Linked DNA regions of Homo sapiens: region 1 is linked to region 2. The links are contacts of gene promoters, found by promoter capture Hi-C in blood cells and fetal thymus (Javierre and others, 2016). All regions are on one chromosome and are shown on one strand. Each heading gives the region's core, a stretch centred on a gene start or on the middle of the fragment in contact. The rest is flanking DNA. Distances are from core to core; before and after follow the strand shown. Region 1 holds the start of OXSR1 (oxidative stress responsive kinase 1). Region 2 holds the start of OXSM (3-oxoacyl-ACP synthase, mitochondrial).

The links. Contacts are between HindIII fragments. The CHiCAGO score rates a contact against its expected background, and 5 or more counts as called.
Region 1: the fragment with the promoter of OXSR1 here is called in contact with the fragment with the promoter of OXSM in region 2 in 3 of 17 cell types (activated CD4 T cells, total B cells and naive CD8 T cells); the score reaches 19.3 in activated CD4 T cells.

Annotation. Positions count from the first base shown.
Region 1 is chr3:38,164,206-38,166,905 of GRCh38, forward strand. OXSR1 (oxidative stress responsive kinase 1) reads left to right here and starts at 1,332. Exons shown (of 18, transcript NM_005109.3): 1 at 1,332-1,741. The coding sequence starts at 1,672. LOC101928234 (a long non-coding RNA gene) reads right to left here and starts at 1,271. Exons shown (of 5, transcript XR_940733.2): 1 at 1,192-1,271. RefSeq lists enhancers at 7-1,206, 367-446, 597-726, 997-1,096, 1,490-2,105 and silencers at 1,337-1,726, 1,777-1,826. The HindIII fragment of the contact is 1,868 bases long and covers 1-1,386 here.
Region 2 is chr3:25,788,762-25,791,461 of GRCh38, forward strand. OXSM (3-oxoacyl-ACP synthase, mitochondrial) reads left to right here and starts at 1,329. Exons shown (of 3, transcript NM_017897.3): 1 at 1,329-1,386; 2 at 2,229-2,700. The coding sequence starts at 2,260. It also overlaps a transcript of NGLY1 not described here. RefSeq lists enhancers at 808-1,337, 1,477-1,546, 1,557-1,626 and a silencer at 1,155-1,374. The HindIII fragment of the contact is 1,038 bases long and covers 663-1,700 here.

The sequences.
Region 1 (2,700 bases), core at 82-2,581, about 12 Mb after region 2:
CCAGACTGGAGTGCAGTGGCATGCTCTCGGGTCACTGCAACCTTCGCCTCCTGCTTCAGCCTCCCTAGTAGCTGGGATTACAGGCGCCAGCCACCACGCCCAGCGATTTTTCTGTATTTTAGTAGAGAGGGAGTTTCACCATGTTGGTCAGGATGGTCTCGAACTCCTGACCTCAGGTGGTCCGCCCGCCTCCGCCTCCCAAAGTGTTGGGATTACAGGCGTGAGCCACCGCACCCGGCCTAAGGTCTCTTCCTTAAAGACTGCCGTTGGACTGAAAGGTGTCCAACCTAGAACAGTTTCGCACCTAGCCCTATCCCTGTTGGATGCTCATTATTTTTTAAAATCCAATTTACCAAGCGTGTTCAGTCTTCAGCTCGCTAATTTCTCTAACGGCCGTACGTAGTCAAACTGAGAAAACTGTTCAGTGGGGGCGACAAAAGCCAACGCCCGTGAGACAACCCCCAAATCCGTGGGTCGATCTCACTTGTTTAATACCCCAAGCCCTGTCCGGGGGGAAGAAAGACAACCTCCCGAGTCCCTCAAGGCAGGTGCTTATTTGAGCTTCAGATCTAAAGCTGCGAATGGACAGAACCCGCCCAGTGCAGGGTGGACCCGCGAGAGACAGCGCCGCGACAAGCGTTAGAGAGAACGTCCGCCTTGAAAAAAATGTCACCAGGCAAACTTCCAGTTTCACTCCGACCAGTGGCCCAAGGCCTTTTATCCTAGTTGGCAGTGGTCCACACCCAAAGGCTACCCCACCCAGCCGCTCCCTCAGGGTTTCTCCACACCCTGTAGAGCCTTTCGCACGTCTCGAGGGTGTGACGGTTACGCCGTGACGTCACTCCAGAGGAAGTGGTAAGACGAGCGCGGTAACGGAGCTCTTGAAGGGCTGCAGCCCTAACACGGAGAAGCGCGCTAAGAGCCTGGAGGCGGGACCAATTTATGACTGACGTCTACCCACACCCATTGCTTTTCTGATTCCTTCTCAAACAAACCAATGAATGCGACGACGGAGACAGCAGCGTGCCCCAGGCGCTAGAAGTGGCTCTGCCCCTTCTACTTTGCTGCCCTTTGGTCGCCATGCTTAGTGTGGCTACTGCCTCTGTGCTACTTGAGGCTCTCCTACGGCTTTTCGATGCCTTCGATGAACCTCTACCTAAGCACTTCTTCCCTTTCACCGCGAACTCCTACCTTCTCGGGTTTCTAGCTTGCTCACTTTACATCCAGCCACACTGGAGATGGCGGCCGGAGGCGGGCCCGAGGTGGGGCGTGACCAGCGCAGTGACGTCAGCGCGCTGCGTGTCGGCAGGTGGAGGAAGAGGGGAAAGTTTGGCCCGTGCGTGGGGCTGGGGTGGAGGGCGGGACAGAGGGGCTGGGCCCAGGCAAAGCTTCTGTCGCTGCTGCTGCGGAGGCCGAGGACAGGACGTGGGCTGGGCCGGGCAGTGCCGGACTCGGAGGAGCAGGAGGCGAGGTCCGCCGGAGCTCTGAGCCCCCGCTGCTCTGCCGCGCGGTGACCCCGCGCCCCGGCGCCGTCCGACCCGTGGCTGTTCCGAGACGATTGGTGGGGGCGCGGCGGCGGCGGCGGCGGCTGTTGGGGGTGGGGAGACGCGCGGCGAGGAGACGAGCGAGGTCAGCGAGTTTGAGGGAGGACCGCGAGCCGCTGCCGCCGTCATGTCCGAGGACTCGAGCGCCCTGCCCTGGTCCATCAACAGGGACGATTACGAGCTGCAGGAGGTGATCGGTGAGAGCAGGCGCTGCGGAGGGGGGAGGCGCGGCGCTGGGAGGCGGGGGACACGGGAACGTGGGGAGCCGCGGGAGCTCGGGGAGCGCAGCCCTCATAGGAATTCGTGGGGCGCTTGTGGGGCTGGGGGCTTGTAGGACGCTTGTGTCGAGGAGCGCGTGTGAGACGGGAAGGGGGTTTTGAGGCGCGCGCCTGTGAGGTGGCGTGGGGTGGGGTGAGGCTTGAGGGGGCTCAGGAGAGATTTGTGTACAGGATTCTCAAATGTGTGGACAGGAGCGGCCCATGTGTCTTGTAGAGAAAGAAAGTGCAGGTGTGGGACAGGCCTTTCCGAGGCTGTGTGAGAAATGGGATCTTGAAGTGGGCACAGCCATCGATTTCTGGGATTGTGGGATAGATAGGGAGCTTTAAGTTTTTCCTCCATCCGTGCTGGGGCGAACTGGGGATCCTCCAGGTGAAGCTGCAGGAACCGCGCTGAGCAACCGAGACCCAACTTACGACTCCTTCCAACTGACTTTCCAGTCGGGGAGGTAGACATTAAATAAGAAGACAAAAAGAAGTAAGAAGGGCTGGGCGTGGTGGCTCACGCCTGTAATCCCACCACTTTGGGAGGCCGAGGCGGGCGGATCACGAGGTCGGGGGTTCGAGACCAGCCTGGCCAATATGGTGAAACCCCGTCTCTACTAAAAATACAAAAATTAGTTGGGTGTGGTGGTGCGCGCCTGTAATCCCAGCTACTCGGGAGGCTGAGGCAGAAGAATCCTTGAACCCGGGAGGCGGAGCTTGCAGTGAGCTGAGATCGCGCCACTGCACTCCAGCCTGGGCGACAAACCCTGACTCTGACTCAAAAAAAAAAAAAAAAAAAAAAAAATTTGAAGAGGCTTTGGCAAGTGCCATGAAGGAGATAAACAAGATGTTCTGATAGAGAATAACCTGGAGATCTACTTAGGGTGATTTCAAGG
Region 2 (2,700 bases), core at 79-2,578:
TCTTCAAGAAACTCTACTTTGTCACTGAATGAGGATCAACTAGAGGTGACTGGTTAGGCCTGGGACGAAGGTCAAACTGAGCTTTGCTGAATTATTTTAAACAAAATAGATTTCCAAACTCATTTAAATCCAGGACCAACCTGGAAAGCTAAGCTTGACTCACATTCTTCTGTAGGGGTAGGAAAGAATGCAGAGCACTCTACTTGGAAACAATGGCTTCAAGAGGCATTGCCCAGAAAAAACCATAAATATGACTAGAAGGTCCAGATGAAGATTCTATGCTCAACCATTTTTCTAAAGAAGAGCAAGGACAAAACTCACGCCTGGGATAGCATGTGAAAAACAGATGTTCGATGAATACCATCTTGTCGACTTCTTGCTTTTTTACATTTTCATGTTATATTTTCCCTTTATCGGTTTGCAGTCAGCTCTAAGCAAACAGTTAATGAATTTTTCACACTTAGAAACAAATGTCTCCATTGTGACAATGGAGACAATTTTTGAGCACTGTCTCAAATCTGGTGATAATTTTTTTTTAAGTGAAAGGAAGTTTATTAGGAAAGTAAAGGAACAAAGAATGACTACTCCATAGGCAGAACAGCCTGGTGACAACTTTTAAAAAGTAAAAACTTTATTACAAAAACATTTGTTTATTGTAGAAAAGCTTTATTAAATAAAGCTAAGCAAAAATAAGGAGGGAAAGATCACAATCAGTATACATCTTGCAGACCTTTAAAGAATTATTTTTGAAAAAACGGATATATACTGTTTTGTAACTATGTCTCCTAACAAATAGTCGCAACATCTCATTAATAAATATTCACCTGCAGAATTATTTTAAACGGCTGCATGGCATTTGGATGTACCACAAGATACACAACAAATTTCCTGATGTTGGCCATTTTGGTTAATTCCACTTTACTCACAATTACTAATAACGTTGCGAGCTATAGCAATAACTTTGAAACTGCAGAGAATTTCCTTAATTCTTTCTTACAATTCCAGTAGAATACGATGGTGTCCCTTCTCCGACAAAAGGGAATATTTGGGCATTATCACTGCCAAAGAAAAATGCCTTTTTGATGGGTGAAAATGCTACCTCATCGCGTTATTGGCAGGTCCTCGATTATCGGCGAGTCACTGAGGTTCCGAGAGGGGCGTCTCTGCTCACGCAAACAGCTACCCAGCCGCCTCCCACGGTCTGACCTCAGCCAAGGTGACGCGGCTTAAAGTCAACCGGCGGAAAGAGAGTCGAACGGGACGCGTGCGTGGGAAAGCGCATGAGCGTACGTGCGAGCGCGCATGAGCGTACGTGCGTGTGCGCGTGCGCTCGAGAGCGTCATCGCCCCCGACTGTGGAGAAGTGTCCGGGGTAGCCCCGTTACAGGTATCGCTGGCTACCCTCCTCCTTCGCCCCTCCTTTCCTCCTTTACATTCAAATCAAGTCGGGGTTGAATTTCGAGAGGGGAGTCCGAGGACCTGGGGCCTGATTTCTTTTTCTCTCGCCATGCTTCTTCGGGCTGTGTACATGTGTGGTGGTGCCTGAGAGGCGATACAGGGAATGGCTACACTCTTTTACTCCCGCCCCTGGCCTTCGTAGTACCCTTGAAGTGATCCACTAGTCGTAACCCCTCCTTCCACCAATGATTCAATTGGAGAAGTTTAGAGGAGTGGAAAGACTTGTCCCCTTCCCCCATCGCAAGCTTGGTCACAGAGTGTATTGCCAACCCATGTATCCAGACGCTCAGTCTAGGGCTCTTGGCCCTGGGTAGCGTTTTGAAAAGGCTGGTTATCCTTAAGTACTGAAGATTGATAAAGCCCACTTACTTACTTAAAAGAATATGCCCTGAAATGTGTTTTCTGTGCCACTGACACCAGAAATGCTATTTAGAAGAAGTTATCAGTAATCCTGACAAAGGATGCTTCCTGCAGCTCAAATCAGGCTGGAGGTGCCTTTATATTTTTCATTGAATTACTGTTTTGGTGACTCGAATGAATCATCAATTCATTTATTTGTCTTCAAATGTCTGACGGCACTTAAGGTCTAAAAAAGAAGGTAAGTTTAAACAGATAGTTTGATGTTAAGGTATAAATTGAAAGTATGTAACATTTTCCCTGTGTTCATTAGCAGCTCATATCAAGCACCCAAAGGAACACCTTGGATGTTTTTCCTTAGGCCCTTAAGCTATTTAAAAGAATACCTCCTAGGTGTGTTGTGGTCTTTTACAGGAATGTGTTTCTGATCATCTGAATCTTAATCATGTCCAACTGCCTGCAAAATTTCCTGAAAATTACAAGCACTCGTCTTCTATGTTCAAGATTATGCCAACAGTTAAGAAGTAAAAGGAAGTTTTTCGGAACTGTGCCAATATCCAGATTGCATAGGCGAGTTGTCATTACAGGCATTGGCTTAGTGACTCCTCTTGGTGTTGGAACTCACCTGGTTTGGGATCGTCTTATCGGAGGAGAGAGTGGAATTGTTTCACTGGTTGGTGAAGAGTATAAGAGTATCCCTTGCAGTGTTGCTGCTTATGTGCCAAGAGGTAGTGATGAAGGTCAGTTCAATGAACAAAACTTTGTGTCCAAATCAGATATCAAGTCCATGTCTTCTCCCACCATCATGGCCATTGGGGCTGCAGAATTAGCCATGAAGGATTCTGGCTGGCATCCTCAGTCAGAAGCTGATCAAGTGGCTACTGGT